Linked DNA regions of Homo sapiens: region 1 is linked to region 2. Evidence: promoter capture Hi-C in human tissues and cell types (Jung and others, 2019). All regions are on one chromosome and are shown on one strand. Each heading gives the region's core, a stretch centred on a gene start or on the middle of the fragment in contact. The rest is flanking DNA. Distances are from core to core; before and after follow the strand shown. Region 1 overlaps SPATA45 (spermatogenesis associated 45). Region 2 holds the start of BATF3 (basic leucine zipper ATF-like transcription factor 3).

Evidence for each region. The method cuts DNA at HindIII sites, captures the fragments that hold promoters and counts their contacts. A contact is called where the count stands out against the background at its distance.
Region 1: a contact is called between a fragment that was not itself captured here and the fragment with the promoter of BATF3 in region 2, in 1 of the 25 tissues and cell types used here (pancreas).

Annotation. Positions count from the first base shown.
Region 1 is chr1:212,829,632-212,832,763 of GRCh38, forward strand. SPATA45 (spermatogenesis associated 45) reads right to left here. Exons shown (of 3, transcript NM_001024601.3): 3 at 510-630. The coding sequence ends at 611. Among named protein-coding and RNA genes, the nearest start is that of SPATA45, 16 kb to the right of the region's middle. The HindIII fragment of the contact is 3,043 bases long and covers 1-2,804 here.
Region 2 is chr1:212,698,516-212,701,442 of GRCh38, forward strand. It overlaps BATF3 (basic leucine zipper ATF-like transcription factor 3), which reads right to left and starts at 1,325. Exons shown (of 3, transcript NM_018664.3): 1 at 1,158-1,325. The coding sequence starts at 1,247. RefSeq lists silencers at 623-1,072, 1,263-1,342. The HindIII fragment of the contact is 5,625 bases long and covers 1-2,927 here.

The DNA.
Region 1 (3,132 bases), core at 33-2,532, 130 kb after region 2:
AAACAAATATAAACTATTATTTAAACATTTTAGATTACTAAGGAGAAGATTGCCTGGGCATGGTGGCTCACACCTGTAATCCCAGCACTCTGGGATGCCAAGGCGAGTGGATCACCTGAGGTCAGGAGTTCAAGACCAGCCTGACCAACATGGTGAAATGTCATCTCTACTAAAAATACAAAAATTAGCTGGGTGTGGTGGCGTGCGCCTGTAGTCCCAGCTTCTCAGGAGGCTGAGACAGGAGAATAGCTTAAACCCAGGAGGTGGAGATTGCAGTGAGCTGAGATCATGCCACTGCATTCCAGCCCGGGGAACAGAGCAAGATTCTGTCTCAAAAAAAAAAAAAAAAAAAAGGGATCACTGTAAACTAAACTCTTAGGTATTCATGTTTGAAAGTAACTAAAAAACTCAAATCCTCTCTTCAAATCATCTAAGTTTAAATGATAGAATGGAATGAATAAAGATATGTTTTATGTGACTTAATGTTTTTTGAGGGATCTAGTGAATACTTTTGTTTAGCTTTGTTTATAATTAATAATTTGTAAATAATTTAGACACACTGAAGAAGAATCAAAGAGAATGTATTTCCGTGTGTCTCTGGAGATGCACTTTATCCAAATATGGCATTATCTGAAAAAATAAAAAATAAAAAGTATTTGTTATATAACTTATAACACATTTCATGGTTTTTAAAATAACCCTGGAGGGCAGAGTATTGTTTTTCAGATACAGGAACTAAGGTTTAGAAACACCAAATGGGCCGGGTGCGGTGGCTCACACCTGTAATCCCAGCACTTTGGGAAGCCGAGGTGGGCGGATCACGAGGTCAGGAGATCGAGACCATCCTGGCCAAGATGGTGAAACCCCATCTCTACTAAAAAAATACAAAAATTAGCCGGGCGTCGTGGCGCGCTCCTGTAGTCCCAGCTACTCAGGAGGCTGAGACAAGAGAATCGGTTGAACCCAGGAGGCGGAACGTGCAGTGAGCCGAGATCACACCACTGCACTCCAGCCTGGGCGAAAGAGCAAGACTCCGACTCCAAAAAAAAAAAAAGAAACACCAAATGGCGGCCAGGCGCTGTGGCTCACGCCTGTAATCCCAGCACTTTGAGAGACTGAGGTGGGCGGATCACGAGGTCAAGAGATGGAGACCATCCTGGCCAACATGTTGAAACCCCCATCTCTACTAAAAAGACAAAAATTAGCTGGGTGTGGTGGGATGCGCCTGTAGTCCTAGCTACTCAGGAGGCTGAGGCAGGAGAAATCAGTTGAACCCGGGAGGTGGAGGTTGCAGTGAGCCGAGATCGCAACACTGCATTCCAGCCTGGTGACAGAGCAAGAAAAAATCTCAAAAAAAATTAGCTGGGTGTGGTGGTGCACACCTGTAATCCCAGCTACTCTGGAGGCTGAGGCAGGAGAATCGCTTGAACCCCGGGCAGCAGAGGTTGCAGTGAGCCAAGATCGAGCCACTGCACTACAGCCTGTGACAAAGTGACAGAGTGAGACTCCGTCTCAATAAATTAAAAAAAAAAAAAGAAAGAAAGAAACACCAAATGGTTGGGCACGGTGGCTCACGCCTGTAATCCCAGCGCTTTGGGAGGCTGAGGCAGGCAGATTGCTTGAGGTCAAGAATTTGAGACCAACCTGGGCAACATGGCAAAATCCAGACTCTATTAAAAAAATACAAAAGTTAGCCAAGCATGGTGGCACATGCCTATAGTCCCAGCTACTCGGGAGGCTGAGAGGTAGGAGGATCGCTCGAGCCCAGGAGGTTGAGGATACAGTGAGCTATGATCACACCACTGCGCTCCAGCCCCAGTGACAGAGCAAGACTCTGCCTCTAAAAAAAAAAAAAAAAACCTCAAATTACTAAAAGCATGATACTAGTCAATGACAGAGGCAAAACTTGAACCCAGGTGTTTTTAATTCTATATATTTAAATAAACTGCCCCCCTTTTGGGCTCCACATCTCCAAGTGGAAGATTGAAAAGAGGGCCTGGAAATCTCGGACTAAGAGAACTTCTTTCCTAGTCTTCACGTCACTATTAATAGAAGCAAAGAGGATCACCCAGAACTCCAAATACTCTATGCAAAATCTGTAACATTACTTCCCCTCAACACACAGGCCTCCCCACCAGGTTAGACCACCGCTAGGTTCGACCATCAGGACTAATCTCATTCTGTCCCTTATCCCTGTTTACACTGGACTCCTCAAGGAACCCAGGAGTCCTGGGTCATCCCTCATGCCCTGGATAGTAATCCCCATATAGTTATATGGGCAGCAATACACCCTCCATCCAACACTTCCTATCCCCCACCCTGCTGTTTTCTGTTTCCCCATAGCTCTTACCCATTTATCACTATCTGATCGGACATTTACTTCCTTTTTTTTTTTTTTTTTTTTGAGACGGAGTTTCGCTCTTGTTGCCCAGGCTGTAGTGCAGTGGCGCGATCTCTGCTCACTGCAACCTCCTCCTCCCGGATTCCAGTGATTCTTCTGCCTCAGCCTCCAGAGTAGCTAGGATTACAGGCATGCACCACCATGCCCAGCTAATTTTTGTGGGGTTTCACCATGTTGGTCAGGCTGGTCTCGAACTCCTGACCTCAGGTGATCCACTCGCCTCGGCCTCCCAAAATGCTGGGATTACAGGCGTGAGCCACTGTGCCCGGCTGAAATGTACTATTTTTTAACTTGTTTATCTGGCTCTCTACCCAGTGAAATCTAAGCTTTTTTTTTTTTTTTTTTTTTTTTTTAGAAATAGAGAAGAGGTCTCTCTATGTTGCCCAGGCTACTCTCAAACTCCTGGGCTCAAGGGATCCTCCTGCCTCAGCCTACCAAAGTGCTAGGATTACAGGCATGAGCCAGCACACCAAAACCTAAGCTTTTTGAGGCAAGATTTTATTCATCACTGTATTGACAAGCACGTAGAAGAGTGCCTGACATCAAGTAAGCACTGATATATATTCGTTGAATGAATAAAGAGTAAATGAGTGTTTCTTCCTCTTGCACAGGTATGCAAAGGAAAGGAGTACAGTGCCTTCCAATTCGTATTGAATATGTCCAGCAAAATTACTGTATTATTACCCTCCTGCATTTCTAAAGATTATTCCACAGCAACCAACTAAGGTTGC
Region 2 (2,927 bases), core at 75-2,574:
ATGAGATTTTGTCCTAAAGCTCCCAGCATACAGTATGCCCTCAAGAAGTTACCTGCCTTTGTTGAAGTTGCTACTTTAAAAAAAAATGTATTCTGCATAGTGCTTCTCATGCCTCTTTGCTCTCTGTAATCAAAAAGTCACTAGCACAAGAAAGCAGCCTGCATACTGCCCTCGGGGAGCTGACTCTAAACTGGACTCATCACCATGATCACACCTGCCAACCCAGCAGAAACATTTAATCAAGACAGAAAGAGGTGAGCGAAAGTTAGAGATAGTATTATGTTATTAACCATATCTGATTCAGTCTCAAAAATCCTGAGAGGTTGATGTTACTATATTCATTTTACAGATGGGGAAATGGACGGTCCGAGAGGTTAAACAAATTGCTCAAGGCTGCTCAGCCTGTGTGTGGCAAAGCCCAGGCCCAAACTCAGATCTCTGTGACACTCCAGCGACACCTGATGACATGGGCCGGGCGCTGAATTGGGAAGGTGGGGAGTAAGGATGAAAAGACCCAGTCTTCGTCGTAAGGCAGGTGGCCAAGACCCAGGCAAAGTTTCCAGACGGCCGTCCCTGTGGCCAACCTGGTCTCCTTCCTGACTGCGCCGCTGTAAACGTTGCTAGGGGACAGCGAACTGGGAAGGGGCAAAGGGTTTCCACCAGCTGGGGGCGGAGTCGGCCCTTTGTGGGTTCCCTCCGCCCAGGCTGACTAGTCCGGCGTTCTCCATTCCCGCGGCAGCACCCCCCCCACCCGGGGGAATCCTGGAGGGGCTACAGGCGCGGGTGGTGGGGTGGCAGTCGCTGGCTGCGCCAGGATGGGGCGGCCCTCAGGGCAGTGCGGAGCCCACGTGCCGGGGAGCACCGGCCATGCCCGGCCCAGCCAGGCGTCGGCGCCCTCGGGCTTCTTCCCCCAGAGGGCGCAGGAGCTGGCTCAGGAGCCATTCCAGGAGCCGCGGACACTGTGCGCACGACAGGGTCCCTGGATCGCCCCCATTCCCCAACATCCCTACGCCCCTACCTCTGCTTGTCTCCGGCCGCACCCGCCACCTCTGCACCTCCGCAGTCACCACCACGGAACTCCAGCACCCACCTCCTCGCCCCCCGCGGCGCGCCGGTCCCCGCACCCCACGGCCCTCCCTGAGCCTCTCGCCCTCTACCTGCTGCTGCGGCTGCGGCTGCGGCTGGTTCCCGGGCGCCGCGACGCTCCTCTGCAGGACGCTGCCGGCGGCCGGGAGCCCTTGCGACATGCCGGGCGCTCCTCTGGCCCGGCCCGCCCCGCCCCGCCCGCGCGCCCTGCCCGTGGGGCTGCCTACGGGCGCTGTCCCGCCGCCGGCATCCTCGTGCCGCACCCACGGCCTCGCGCCGGCCCCGCCCCCTCAGGCTTCCCGCTCTCCCCGCTACTCCACGCGTCGGCCCAGTGTCCCCGCGCGCCAGTCCCGGCAGCCGTCCTTCCCGTCCCACGTCTGCCCCGCCCTCCTTCTCCCACCCCCGCCTCGTTTCCTCCTCTGCCCGCCCTCTCTCCGCACCTCGGGGTCCCAAATCCCACCCCTGCCGCGGCTTTCCGCCGGCGCCCCGCGCTTCGTGGAAGTCACGTGGTGGCTCTGAAACCCCGGAGGGAACGCGAAGCCCACCCACGCGAGGCGACGCCCGGGGGGGTGGGGACCAGGGGGGCGCCATGCAGCCTTTGGGGTCCTTCGGCGGCTGCCGGGGAACTCAGGTTGAGAAACACAGTGGGTGTTTTGGGGTCGGTGTTTTTTCCCGGTCCCATCGCGGCATCTTCCTGCGCCTCAGCCACGCCCTGCGTCCGCCCCCCGGCGCGGGGGTCACAGTCCCGGGGGACTTTCTCCGCGGCGATCAGTCATCCGGGCGCCACTCTCGCTCCTCCAGCGGCCCCGAAGCCGCGGCTCTGGGGTGAAGACGCCGGCTTCACCGAGTCCCACCGCGCACCCCGAGCCACGGGCGCCCCAGGGACTCTGCAGGGAGTGCCTGCCCTTCCCGTCTCGGGTCCGCCGGGCTGTGGGAGGGAACGAGGCGGGGCGGCCCCGAGGGTGAATTCCCGGAGCGGAGGGTGGGCATGGGGAGGATGTCCCGGACAAAAACGGTGACGGGCTTCCCTGAGAGCGAATCTGCCACGTGGGACGTCACTAGTGACAGGTTTGGGGATCTGGACCCGCCATGCCACGGTTAAACGGCCCAGATCATTTTTCTTTTTCAAGATTTATCTGCTCGTGCCAAGCTGGGGACCGGGTTGAGGTAGGGCAAGTCCCTGTCCACCTGCCTGCCAGTCAAAAGATGCGAAGCCAAGACAATTACCCGTGGTCCTAGCGAAGGAAACACTAGCGGCCACAGGCTGTGGTCTGCATGCTGTGAGCACCGGGAAAGATAACCGCGATTCGGGATGGGCGGGTGGGAACCAGACCAGAAGGGCAGAAGTGCCTACCAAGTGTGGTCGCTTGGGTCTTCAGGTTTGTGGGCAGCAGTGGGCATGGGGACAGTCATTTCCGATTCCTTTTTAAGTCTTAAATGAGTGCACGTGCCCCCCGCCAGGATTTAAGACCCACTCTTGCAAAAGCTTTGAGAGAGCTTGAGTGAACTTGGCTGCCTGGAGGCCAGCGGGAAAGCGAGCGGAGATTCTTGTCTGTGTGATCAGAAGCTTCGGCCAACTGAGAGGCGGGGAGGAAGACGGAGGGTGGACGCAGCCCTTTAGAGTTGCAGCGCCACACTCCACAGCAGCAAGGCTGCGCAGCAGAGCCAGCGCTACGCTGGGTTATCTGCCCGGATTAATCTTTTCCTCTCCGTTATTTCATCACTCAGCTTAACTGGTGGTTGCCCCAGGACTATTTTGCATCCCACAAGGTACCCACACAAGGTGCCTAGCATAGCACGCTACATACACTCAACAGGTGCTCAGTATATGTATTGCACTA